Regions from separate parts of the Homo sapiens genome. Here all the other regions are linked to region 1. The links are contacts of gene promoters, found by promoter capture Hi-C in human tissues and cell types (Jung and others, 2019). All regions are on one chromosome and are shown on one strand. The core of a region is centred on a gene start or on the middle of the fragment in contact, and the rest is flanking DNA. Distances in the headings are between cores, read along the strand shown. Region 1 holds the start of SEMA5A (semaphorin 5A). Region 2 overlaps LINC02112 (long intergenic non-protein coding RNA 2112). Region 3 overlaps SEMA5A (semaphorin 5A). Region 4 overlaps SEMA5A (semaphorin 5A).

Region 1 (3,298 bases), core at 466-2,965:
GGAAGGGAGAACGGTTAAGCTTTTCCTTCAGGTCCCCAGGAGCCTGCAGCTGCCACACAGCAGGCCGGGAGCCCCCGCCACAACCCAGGGAGGAATGCTTGCCAAGAAGGCCTGCCCAGCTACTGACACTTCCTCCCAGAGGTCTTAAAGGAAATCCCAGTAAGGCCTGAGTACCCAAGACAGCCAGATCACCCGTGCCAGAGACTGGGCATTTGGGGATGGGCTGGGCTTTCATAGAAACCTTCGGAATTGCTTTCACTTAATTCTTTTATTTTAAAAAAAAGTTCTAGAAAATAAAGACACATCGATAGCAATTTGTATTTCCATTGTCCTCTTAGGTCTGCATGGCTACTGTGCGAGCTATGACACCCTGCAGCCTGCAATAGCTTCTTTGTTTTATGGATGAGCTCAATGGAACCCTTATGGACGCACCGGACCATGCCCAGGACCAGCGAGGCCCATCCATACCCCACCACTGGCTGGAAGGGCGCTGGTGTGAACGTGGGTCCTTGCGGGGGTCCCTACCTCACTGCGGTCAGGAGGGGGCAATTCACACATTTCCTCATGCAGGGGACCTTCAAGCCTCCCTCTGAGGCGCAGACTGAGTAAAAAGGGCCCAGAGATACTGTCCCGCACCCCCATCCAGTGGGAAAGGGCCACTCAAGGCCAGTCAGGACTCCCAACCCAAGTTTTATGCCTTATACTCCTATAACTTTACCATTTGCTCTTTTCGCGAGGCTGACCCCCTCCCTCTCCCCCCCCACCGCCTCCTCCAGAAACTGAAGAACTGCAACAAAGTGTCCAATTATACACGTCTTCAAAGGTACTTTACTTGCTTCCCAATTATCAACTTTTCACCTGAGTACTTAGTAAGGCCCAAGGATCCTGCAAAAGTGCAACAAGGAATAATTGACACAGAATTGGACGAATGACTTTGACCATACGGGACTTCTCTCTTAACGCTCAGCGTGGCTACCTGGGGACGCCTTCTCTGGCCTCCCTGATTCGTCAGATTTGTTCATTTCCTTGACTTAATCCCGCTGAAATCGACCCGAACTAGCCGGGAGTCTCACCCCCAAAGTGCTCCTCCAAGAACCCGCAACGACTGACTCTCTCGTCTTCTTTAAGGAGTTTCTCCCTCAGAACGGATGAGGATGTCACACAGAAAGAACAAAATCACAAAGTTCGAGTTCCGGAGGACCAGACGGCCCCTGCCCCCCATCCCCCGGGCCAGATTTAGCCGAGGGAACCGCACGTACCTGAAGCCGAGGCCGGCAGAGAGGGAGCGCCACGTCTCAGGTCTCGGCCGGCGCCCCCCTCCGGGGTGCAGCCACGTCTGAACCGGGACAGCGGGCGGGGGAGCCGCAGAGGGACCCAGTGAGACGGGGGAGGGAGCCCCCAAAAGTCAGCGCTCGGCCGCACTCGCACTGGGGAGGCTGGAATGGAACTCCTGGGGTGCAGCGGGGCTCCCAGGAGCGAAGGTGGGGGTCCTGTACCGGGAAGGGGCGGGGCCCGGGGAGGGGCTCGGGGAGGTCAGGCGCGGGTGGGGCGCTCGAGTTTCACCCCGGCGGGGAGGAGGAGGAGGAGGAGGCGGCGCGGCGGCGGGGGCGGGGCAGGGGCGGGGCGGGGCGGGGGTGGGCCCAGGCTGTCCCCCGCTCCCCGCCCAGCGCTCTCCGCCCCGCGCTCTCCGCGCCCGCTCGCCCCGCGCCGATCTACTTGCCGGGAAGGCGGCGCCGGTGGCGGCTGCTCTCCCTGAGCCCGCTCCCGAGCGCTGCTTTCCCGCCGCGGGTGGGCTTCGCAGCCTCAGGCCAGCCGCGGCCCTTGGCCCGCTGCAGCCCCGGCCCTCCACCTTCCCCGTGCAGGGGCGGCCCGGCCAGTGTCGCTCATCCCGGGACGCTCCCTTCTCCCACCCAGGACTGCCCCGCGGAGCTGGCTTGGACACCCAACTTTGCCACCTCGAGGGTCGTCTCTGCTGGGCGCGAACCTGCCCACCCACCGGTTGGCCGCGCGCTCGGGGACCGTGCTCGTGGCCCCCAAGCCGGTGCCCCCATTCTGGAACTCAGCGAGTAGGGGGCGGCTCTGGGGAAGTGGCAGGGGGCGGCTGCAGCTGCTGCCTCCACTTCCCTAGCCAGGTGCTGAAGAGGATCCTCGGAGCCGCTCTGGCCCCCAGGCGCTGGATGACTGGCACCAGCGCTCCTCGCACCTGGTGAGCGACCCCCGCCCGATTCCTGCGTGGCCTTGGCAGGAGCCCCTGACCGCGCCGCGCCGCGCCGCGCCGCTGGCCGGGACCCGGGGACTGCAGCGGTCGGCTGGTGGGTGGTGCCGATCTCGGGTGGGATCCATCAGCAGGCACCTGGGCGGGGGTTGCGCGTACAGGATTAGGACGACCGTCAGTCCGGGGGCGCCCACAGTTGAGCTAGTGCACGGGCTGGAAGTTTGTGTACCCGCCTGTGCCGAGGTCTGAGCATGGAGAGGTAAGGAGCCGGAGTGTCGCGGTGGGCGAGACGGGACCCCTGCCCAACACCCGGAAAGGTGCGCACACTGGTCTGTGCCCGCCCCCGGCGCGCCTCCAGGCTCGCACTGCCGCGAGCCGGGGGCAGGGGACACGGAGGTCGGGACTTGGCGGTTCGGGAGCGGCCACCTCGCAGCCCCACCGGCTTGGGCAGGTTTTCCTGCTTTCCTTACAGGGGAACCGGGAGGCAATGGGACTTGGGCTCAACTCCGCCAAGCGCCTTGGTTAATGAAAGACACTAAGGCGGGGGATGCAGAGGCCTGGGGAACCACCAGCCAGGTGCGCTGCAGCTAGGCGAGCCCCTTTCACCAGGCATCCCTCCGCTGCTCCACGGATTTTGCACACCGCGGCTCAGGGTTTCAGACCCCAGGGTTTCGGGCAGATCGGGCTCCAGAGGGAATGGTTTCTCCCAAGATGTGCGTGGGAACGGTCGTGGAGGAGTGATTCCCCCGGCTCGCTCCCCGCGGCGGCCGGTGCCTGGCTTGGAGCGGTCACATCCCTGTTCCCCTGGCTTTGGCGGGAAGCGCGTTCACCTCCTCGCCCTTTGCTTGCTTTGTACCAGGATGCCGCGGCCGGAGTTGGGATTTAACTTTCCTGCGCCTGCGGCGTCCTCGGGATTCCCGGCAGGGGGCGCTGCGAGCGAGCGCTCGGAGGACGAGGCGCCACAGGCAGTTGCTGGGTCCTGGGCGAGTGGGCGGGAGTCCCAGGCAACAAACAGCAGAACCAGGCAGATCTTGCAATAATTTCATTTTGGGGGCCGGGGGTTGGGGGAGCTGATCTGGTGGC
Region 2 (3,298 bases), core at 406-2,905, 290 kb before region 1:
TTCAGCACCATATTCAAGAAGCACTGTGATTCTCAATATGGATAAATTCAAAGTAAGCTTGCAAAAACAAATGACAAAGAGATAACCCTTGAAAGCATCCAGAGAGAAAAATAGGACACATGCTCTCAAGGTAGAAATATAAGACAGACAGCTGACTTCTAAATGAATATGATGGAAGTTAGATCACAGTAGAATAAAAGCTTTAAAGTGCTGAAAGACCAACCTAGATTTATGTGCTTTGTGAATATGTCTTTTAAAAGTAAATGTGAGCTGAGGCAGGAGAATGGCGTGAAACCGGGAGGCAGAGTTTGCAGTGAGCTGAGATTGTGCCACTGCACTCCAGCTGGGTGAAAGTGTGAGACTCCATCTCAAAAAAAAAAAAAAAAAAAAAAAAAAAAAAAAAAAATAAATAAATAAATAAATAAATAAAATAAAATGAAAAATAAAGTGAATGTGAATAGATAACATTTTTAGATAAAAACTGAAAGAGTTTGTTACTAGCACACCTTCACTAAAAATATTCTAATGGAGTTCTTCAGGGAAAATAAAAGTAATCCTATCAGAAACACAGAAATACAGTAAGAAATGAAGAGCAACATAAGTGATAAATATAAATGAACATTGACTGTACAAAATGATAAAGCCTTGGGATCTAAAATATATAGGAATATATAGAATTAAAATGCATGACAACAATTCAAAAAACATAAGGGAATAAATGGAGTTAATGTAACATTAAGATAGTGGTAAAAATCTTAATTCATGTTAGAGTTTAAATAGTCAAGAAGAGTGCATGCCCTAATCTTTATAGTCACCACCAAAAGATAATAAGATATGAATAACTAAAAATGGATGGTAGAGGAGAAAGATGGGAAGGATAAAAAACAAGATGAATATTGGTGCCATTCATTCAGATAAAGAACTCTGAAAGAGATTGAACAGGAGATGTAAACTCGATGGTTGGATGAGTTAATGTGAATCCCAGAAGTCTGAGCTACACTTTTTTGAGGCTCAGAGCTACCCTGTTTTCGTGGTAAATTGAAGAAGAGTGAGGAATATCTCACTTGTGCAGACAGTCCTCAGTTTAGCTCACCCTTCCTGCAGCTCACATTGATGTAATCAATGACATAGGTGGCAAAATCTCACCAGGGAACTTTATGCAGCTGAAATACAAGGTAGCAAGGAGAGCAAGAGTCCAAAACGTTGACTCTTTTCATCTCATTTGCTTGTAATCACAACCCATTCAAAGTCATTTTCCTAAAGAGTTGGATTCAGAATCCTTCTGGGAGGACGAAAGTCTAGAATGGTAAGCCAAATTGGGTTTGGCCTGCAAAGGGGCTAGAAGTTTCCTTTCCCCTAGAAATATAAAAATCGATTACATTAAGTATTCTGTATTAAAATGACTGAGATAAGAATAGTTAAATATGGAAGGCAGGAAAAATGACTATACTTTAAATATGTAATTACCTGTAATGGACTACCTTAAAAAAAAAAAGACGTGTGTTTACTTTTACAACTTCTGACAGCACTGCACATGCAAAAACTACCCGTCTGTTGTTCAGCCTTGCAAAACGCTCAATGCCTCTCATGTTAAGCCTGTGAAGAATTTTGTCTGTTCATTCTTTATTGACAGCTGTGATAGAGCTTTGAGTCACTTTGTACTTATTGGATTCCTCAAGCACAATTTCTCCTGTTTCAGCGTAGAAACACACCTTCCCTATTTGGAGATTGTCAAGAGTGTTGTGATAGTAATTTCATCATGTCACTGAAAGCTTTTCTTTTTTTATTTTGTTTTAAGGAATAAAAAGAGTAATGGACTAGCTTTTCATTTACTTATGAGATCTGCTTGTCGTTATAAAAGACTAAAGGTTGTCTTTCAGTGTATTTTGTTGTACAACAGGATGTTATTTTATTGCTGATATCATATATGAATTCTTACCACTTGCTTTTCACATGGCAGTTTGAGTGTCGGAAACCTGAGAGTTCCATCAGCCTAAATTATTTTTCCTTTTACCGTGTCTGTGCTGCTTTCCCACTCCCTCTCCTGCATTCATCCCTGCCCACTCTGCAGCTGTGCAAAGCTCTAAGCTCTTGAGAATCTGCCTCCTTGTCTTCACAGAGCTGAGCACAGAGCCCTCTTTACCCTAGCGGCTGCGCAGCTCAGGCTTCATCACTGTGGTGATAACAGAGACCTGCTCGATGCTGATGATGTTATGATCCTGAGTCAAGGATTTGACTTTTAAAACGTGATGTTTTTCCATCGGCTTCTGGAATAAGTACTCCAGCCCAGATTTCAGTGTCCAGTTAGTCCAGGTCTGAAACCAGAGCCTTCTAACCATCCAGCTCTCACTGCATTTCAGATGTTTGGTTTAGCCTGCTGTTGGTGTTGAAACACACCTCAGAAAAAGCACGGGAGGTCAGTGTTCCAAATGTGAATCATTTCCAGCGTTGAAGATGACCTTAAGGAACTGAGCTTCCTTTCCTAATAGAACATTGCATCTTACTCTCTTCCTAAAAAATGTATATCCAAGAATCCATTTTATTGGGCTTGCTAGGAGTTGATGCAGAGGAGAGTTGTGCTTTCGGAGCAGAAGTACTGTCCAGCATTTAAAGCTCTCAGAACCCCTGGTTTATTCCATCTTCATAACTGTGGATATGAGAATCAGAGGCAAATGTCAGTGATAACCTCAGCTGCTGAAGAACAGAAAGCTGTACCTTGAGGTGTCATTTCACATCATGTATGCATAACAGGCAACCTGCTTTGTAGCTTTTTCTTCGCATATCAGGGATGAAAAAATATGGCTCAGGAGCTGTCTTGGCTGGCATGAGGGGCAGATGTTCAGATTGGGTGTCTACATTTTAAGAGGCGTATTCTATTCGCTCCTTCATTCTCCTCTTTCCCACATACTCTTGATCTTTCTCAGACTCGGCTTCTGGGAAAAAAACCAGGGGCCCACAGATATGCCTGGAGAAGGGTGAGGATGGACTAGAGGTGCAGAGACGGGGCGCACCACAGCAGAGCACCAAAAGATTCCTGGGCACTTTTACAGATACTCAGACCCCATCCCAGACCTGGAAAGTCAGAAATTCTGGGGTCTATACCCAGGGATCTGTGCTTTTTCAAAGCTTCCCAAAGTGATTCTGATCATCATCCTGGTTTGGAGACTCCTGCCCTGGGGGGGTTGTCTCTGCATTTCATCCATGGACTTGACAGAGATGCTCACCATAGCTGAAGCTTGCTCTGTGATGTGATCCAACTGAGGAAGCAATGCTGGGACTCACAGATATTTGAGTAAAG
Region 3 (3,298 bases), core at 561-3,060, 280 kb after region 1:
CAAATGCTGTGCTGGGAGATCTCTGTTCTCTTCAGAGCCATCAGGCAGGGATGTTTCAGCCTGCTGAAGCTCTGCCAAAAACCTCCCCTTCCCCCAGGTGCTCTGTCCCAGGGAGGTGGGGGTTTTATCTATAAGTCCCTGACTGGGGCTGCTGCATGTTTTTCAGAGATGCCCTGCCCAGAGAGGAGAGATGGTCTGGCTTCAGTGGCCTTGCTGAGCTGCGGTGGTGGGCTCCACTCAGTTCGAACTTCCCAGTGGCTTTGTTTACACTGTGAGGGTAAAACCACCTACTCAAGCCTAAGCAATGGCAGACACTCCCCTACACCCCCACCAAGCTCCAGCGTCCCACATCTAGCTCAGACAGCTGTGCTAGCAGTGAAAATTTCCAGCCAGTAGATCTTAGGTTGCTGAGCTCTGTGGGGTTGAAACCTGCCAAGCCAGACCACTTGGCTCCCAGGCTTCAGCCCCCTTTCCAGGGGAGTGAATGATTCTGTCTCGCTGGTGCTCCAGGTGCCACTGGGGTATGAAAAAACAACTCCTGTGGCTAGCTTGGTATCTGCTCAAACAGCCGCCCAGTTTTGTGCTGGAACCCCAGGGTCCTGGTAGTGTGGGCACTGGAGGGAATCTCCTGGTCTGTGGGTTGTGAAGAGCGTGAGAAAAGTGCAGTATCTGGGCCGGAGTGCATGGTACAATCCCTAATGGCTTCCCTTGGCTAGAGGGAGTTCCCTGACCCATTGTGCTTCCCGGGTGAAGTGATGCCCCACCCTGCTTTGGCTTGCCCTCCTTGGGTTGCACCCACTGTCCAACAAGTCCCAATGAGATGCACTAGGTACCTCAGTTGGGAAAGCAGAAATCACCCACCTTCTGCATTGATCTTGCTGGGAGCTGCAGTTCCTATTCTGCCATCTTGCCAGCAGTCCCCTTCTTTGTTTTTATTACTATCAGCCTTTTGGTCAAAAACCATTCAGTAAGTCTCTAGCAAGTTCTAAATTTTTCCACATTTTCCTATCTTCTTCTGTGCCCTCCAAACTGTTCTAGCCCCTAACTGTTACTCAGTTCCAAAGTCGCTTTCACATTTTCAGTTATGTTTATAGCCGTACCTCACTCCTGTTACCAATTTTCTTTATTAGTTCATTCTCATAGTGCTATAAAGAACTACCTGAGAATGGGTAATTTATGAAGAAAAGAGATTTAATGGACTCACAGTTTCACAGGCTTAACAGGAAGCATGGCCTGGAGGCCTCAGGAAACTTACAATTATGGTGGAAGGCAAAGGGTAAGCAAGCACGTTTTACCATGGAGGAGCAGAAGAGAGAGCAAGTAAACGGGGGAGTGCCACATGCTTTTAAACCATCAGATCTCATGAGAATTCAGTCACTATCAGGAGAACAGCATGGGGGAAATCTGTCACTATGATCCAAAGACCTCCCACCAGGCCCCTCCCCGATATGTGGAGGTTACAATTTAACGTGAGATTTGGGTGGGGACAGAGAACAAAACCGTATCAAGTTCCTTATGTTAAAAAGGAGAAAGCAAACATTCACAAATTCTTTCTTCAATATGTGAAAATATAAAACCTATTTTTAGCAAGCAAGTGATCAGAAAATAGGCAATGGGCTGGATTTGACCCACAGGCTGTAGTTTGCTACTCTGATGTACATTGGAGAAGTCTGCCTCTTAGATCTCAATAACATTATGGCTTATATTTAATCTATTTTTTTTTCTTTTTTGACCAGAAGTTCCAGGTAAAGCAAAGCTCCTTAACCTTGTCCTGGGGAAACCCTCCTCCCCCTGCCCCCACCCGCTGCCCCAACATCAGAGTATGCCAAATCTGGGCTGCTGCTTTCTAGGTATATTGGAAGCATCTCTAGTCAGTTCTCAGGCAACCTGAGAATGTGCTCCCAAAGTGAATGCTGTGTTTCCAACCAGACTCGACTTTCCCCCGCTCTCAGTACCTTTCATACTTCCTTTTCTGGCCAGAATCTAGAAAGAGTTGTTATTGTTTCCTATGGGACTTGCTCAAGTTTTGGGTCATCTATCTCTGAAAATTGTCATTTCCATATAGATTTGTAATGCTATTGAATTGAGGTTCTCGTAGATCACCCCAGGTTCAATAATTCTCCGGGACTCAAGGACTCAATATGTAGTCATGCATGGCTGTGATTTATTACAGTGAAGGAAAAAAAAATTAGCAAAGACAAGAGGTGCATGGATAGATCATGAAGAAAACAAGGTGTGATCTTCCAAGAGTCTTCTTCCAGTGGAATCACACTGGATGCACTTAATCCTTCCATCAGCAAATTGTGACAACACGAGGAGAGTGTTGTCTACCAGAGAGGCTCAATGCCCTGGGTTTCTCCTGCGGGCAGATCACACAGGACCTCTCTGCCTGGAATGTATTAAAATTGCAGACTCCTGGAAGGAAAGCAGATGCTTGCGTAAACCACCTTGCATGTATTAATAATTGAGGCACAGTGAGCCGTTTTTAACAGGGAATTGTGGAAACCCTCCTGATATCTGAGCTCCCAGAAACCAGCTAAGGGGCCAATTTTGCAAGCAGGCCCTTCTAGGATGACAGTCTCAGGCCTACTCTACTAAGTCTTCTCTGTGCAGCTGTAAAAAGGGGACTGGATGGAGTTCATTGTCATACGGAATTTAATAACACTGGCTTCCTAACTCAGAAGTGAGTGTTAGAACTAATTCTTATGTTTTGCATATGCAGATTTATTACATTTCATACTATGTATATAGACATAGAGAATATAAATAGATATTTTATAAAAATTTATAGAAGCCTTAAGGTCACCACCATGTATAATCTTACATTTTATATTTTATGTCTCTTTTGCTACTCTTACAACAGCAGTTGTAATTACAATGTTTCTATTCTATTTTAGTGTTAACAAGAATATTTTCATGAACATTATCTCCTTCAAGCTCTACCTCACCATTTTTTGGTAATTAGGGCATTTATTATTTTCTCCCCATATTTTCAAGTGAGTACGCTAACTTAGACAGGTGAGGCCATTTGCTCAAGGTTGCATAGCTAATCAAAACCAAGCCAGAACACAAATACTGTTCTTGTACTTTTTAGGAATTCCATAGCCATCTCCATTGTCTTTCTACTGAGTCAGATACAAGTCACAGCTCCAACACAATAGGTGATTATTATTAATATCTATTTCTACTGCTTCCATGCCTACAGGAGATCCTGTATTATCTGCCTGGCCATCTCCTGCCTGCCATCTGGCGCCAAGGTGTCTCTCACAGAGCTGGGGAAGGGAGTAAGCAGGGTGCT
Region 4 (3,298 bases), core at 538-3,037, 260 kb after region 1:
GTTATGTTATTTAACATGGGAGAGTATTTATAATGTTTTGAAATGAGGTGGGAAAGAACCATTATTTTCTGTTTTATAGGGAGGGTCTCTGGATACCTAGTGGCAACATATTTAAAGAGCTGTCATTAATTTAAGATATTGAAAAATTGTGAAGCTTAACGTCAATGGATGTGTATGTATATACACATATATCAATGTTTCTGTATATCTAGCGCTATCATCTCTATGTACCTATTTCTCCTTTTTTAAGATATAAGGGATCTAAATTTGCTGAACTTCCTGTTATTTTTAATAGTATGATGAATAGTAGGTACCTGTAGAAAAGAAATTGTCTTGTTTCACAATTAATGAGACCGTAATTGCTTTCCAAAAGAAACTCATGCAATATAGCAGCACAATACTCAACTGCAAAAATATTGAACCAATCCAAATGCCCATCAGTCAACAAGTAGATAAAGAAAATGTAGTGTATATATATGTATATCATAAAAATGAATGAAATAATGGCATTTACAGCAAGCTGCATGGACCTGGAAACCATTATTCTAAGTGAAGTAACTCAGGAATGGAAAACCAAACATCATATGTTCTCACTCATAATGGGAGTGCTTAACTATAATTATTCAAAGGCATAAGAACGATACAATGGACTTTGAGGACTAAGAGGAAAGGGTGGGAGGGGGTGAGGGATAAAAGACTACACATTGGGTACAGTGTAGCCTGCTTGGGTGATAGGTGCCCCCAAAATCTCAGAAATCACCACGAAAAAACTTATTCATATAACCAAACACCACCTGTTTCCAAAAAACCTATTGAAATAAAAAAATTAAAAGTAATTTTTAAATCAGATACCTCAGAAGATTTCTGTCCTTATGTGAATTGGTTGTTAATGATGATGCTCAACAATCACTATAATAACAATCTTACCTGATTTTTAAATATATAAATTTAGAAAATTCACTTTTGAAATGTCTTATGTGTACTTTTAACCCTTTTTTAAAACTCCCAAAAGGGAAGTTTCAGTGGACTTTAAGCTCATTTTTTAATCTTTCTGATAAATTTTTGAGCACAAGATATTGACATCAGTGAAGATGAAAATGTGCTTGGCAAATTTCAACAAAAAACATTGTCTAATTGGCAGATGAAGTTGAAAAAGTAGTATATCAAAATTTATTAAAAACAGCCAATGATGTAATTGGATTTTTTTTTTTTTATTTTTGAGACAGTCTTGCTCTGTCACCCAGGCTGGAATGCAGTGGCGCAATCTCGTCTCACTGTAACCTCCACCTCCTGGGTTCAAGTGATTCTCCTGCCTCAGCCTCCTGAATTGCTGGGACTACCGGCACGTGCCACCACGCCTGGCTAATTTTTTGTATTTTTTGTAGAGACGGGGTTTCACCGTGTCAGCCAGGATGTTCTCAATCTCCTGACCTCGCGATCTGCCTCAGCCTCCCAAGAAATTGGATTTATATATCTGTTTGAGTTGTCCACTTCAGTTATAGAAGTTTTTAAACTAAAAATTAATATAAATTGAATGTAGAAAACAGAATTTTAATTCATTCTATCATAAATTATTGCACTAAGTTTAAAAAGTTTTGTTAAATCAGACTATAACATAATATTTACTTTATAATATCAATCATTTTATCTTGATGTCATTATTTTCAGATGTGTATACTGTATTTAAAATATACTTATATACATGCACAGCTGTATGTGTTTATAATATATAAATGAAGACATATACACTGATTGGAAGTAAATGCCAGATCTCATTGATGAGGATGTGGGAGAAAAACATTTGTGAAAATACTGTTAGAGTCCTATTCAACATGTTTCGTGAGCAACACAGGTCTCTAATAGGCTTAAACCATCAATGGCAATGTCACTACGCTAGGATTCACTTTCTGACAAAAGAAGCATTTAATTTAAAAATCATTTTGGGAGAAAAAATACTTTTGTTTTTGTTTGAAGGATGAGGTAAAAATGCTTTCCTTTTTTTTGTGTGTCCTCATTTCTACTTCTTTCAAATATCAACATGATATGAATGAGATATAGTTTACAACTTGTACATTAGCTACTGTGGGCTTAATCTTACCAAGACTACATTTTGGTTCCAGCCACTTCATTATGCAACCATTTTTTGGTAAATTTATTTTTATTTTAATGTTGGAGAAAAGACTTATTCTTAGCATTGCCCTAATTTTAGAAAATGAATTTCATTCATGAGAGTGTTCTTGGCTAGAAATATAAACACTGTAGAGAACAGTTTCACATTTATTTTCTCCTGTTTTATCATCTTCGAAAGAAAGTGAACTCCTGCTGGCTATTTTCTCTTGCCCCTCCCAGCGTCTGTTTCTGCCTCTGTACTGGGAAGCTTCTATGACTGCTGTCATGCCCCTGTGCCCTCTCGCGGCCAGCTGGATAGGGCCATGGAAAAGGTCCTTGGAAGGCCTGTGGGAGAAAGGGGAGGGAAGTCCGAGCTGCGATTCCCACCACTGGCTGCCACTGGGTTACCTGGGACTGGCTGTGGCCCTGGCCTCACACCGCAGCAGCCACACCCACCTGGCTCTCCCTTTATGACCCTTTATCCCCCAGCATTCCTTTGGGCCCCTTAGTAGCCACTGGGAACTCTTGTGTTTGCCTCTTCCACACCTGTGTCTTTGTTGATAGTTGTCTTGTCAAGCCTTCTTCAAATTATCTTATGTGATGGTGTCACGTAATTCCTATAGAACCCTTGATTCATAAAGTATCCTAAAACATATTTTAATATTTTCCCAGTTTTGTGAAGTGCTTTTAATTCTATTTTAGATATGTCATGTGTCTCTTTTACATTTATCTTATACATTTGCTTGCTTATCCTCTTAATCCATAAGTGTTTTTGAAGACAGCAATATTCAGAATCTACTATTCTGGTATTCAGAATATTCAGAATATCTGGAAGGATATTCAGAATCTATTGAGTTTGGTTGAACATGATGACATTTTATTTTTTAAAAATTAGGGCTTGAGGGAAATAATTTTTAAGTTACTTTGCCATAATTGGCTAGAGCAAGACTTTGCAAACATTTTCTGTACAGGGCCAGATAGTAAATGCAGAGACTTTGCAGGCCACGTGATCTCTGGTATGGCTCATCAACTCTGCCATGATGGTACAAAGCCGGCTATAGACAATAAGTATATGAATATGGATGGCTGAGTTTTAATAAAACTTTATTTATAATAATAGGTGGTAGGCCTGATTTGGCCTGCTGACTATAGTTTGCCAAGTCCTGTACTAGGGTAACATAACATTAGA

The links. The method cuts DNA at HindIII sites, captures the fragments that hold promoters and counts their contacts. A contact is called where the count stands out against the background at its distance.
Region 2: a contact is called between a fragment that was not itself captured here and the fragment with the promoter of SEMA5A in region 1, in 1 of the 25 tissues and cell types used here (H1 embryonic stem cells).
Region 3: a contact is called between a fragment that was not itself captured here and the fragment with the promoter of SEMA5A in region 1, in 1 of the 25 tissues and cell types used here (mesenchymal stem cells).
Region 4: a contact is called between a fragment that was not itself captured here and the fragment with the promoter of SEMA5A in region 1, in 1 of the 25 tissues and cell types used here (hippocampus).

Annotation. Positions count from the first base shown.
Region 1 is chr5:9,544,492-9,547,789 of GRCh38, reverse strand. SEMA5A (semaphorin 5A) reads left to right here and starts at 1,715. Exons shown (of 23, transcript NM_003966.3): 1 at 1,715-2,206. It overlaps SNHG18 (small nucleolar RNA host gene 18), which reads right to left and starts at 1,590. Exons shown (of 3, transcript NR_045196.2): 1 at 1,260-1,590. RefSeq lists a silencer at 1,592-1,781. The HindIII fragment of the contact is 8,719 bases long and covers 1-3,298 here.
Region 2 is chr5:9,837,966-9,841,263 of GRCh38, reverse strand. All of the region lies in intron 4 of LINC02112 (long intergenic non-protein coding RNA 2112), which reads left to right. It also overlaps a transcript of TAS2R1 not described here. Among named protein-coding and RNA genes, the nearest start is that of LINC02221, 15 kb to the left of the region's middle. The HindIII fragment of the contact is 3,052 bases long and covers 130-3,181 here.
Region 3 is chr5:9,269,206-9,272,503 of GRCh38, reverse strand. All of the region lies in intron 5 of SEMA5A (semaphorin 5A), which reads left to right. Among named protein-coding and RNA genes, the nearest start is that of MIR4636, 220 kb to the right of the region's middle. The HindIII fragment of the contact is 5,003 bases long and covers 1-3,298 here.
Region 4 is chr5:9,287,584-9,290,881 of GRCh38, reverse strand. All of the region lies in intron 5 of SEMA5A (semaphorin 5A), which reads left to right. Among named protein-coding and RNA genes, the nearest start is that of SEMA5A-AS1, 220 kb to the left of the region's middle. The HindIII fragment of the contact is 3,986 bases long and covers 1-3,298 here.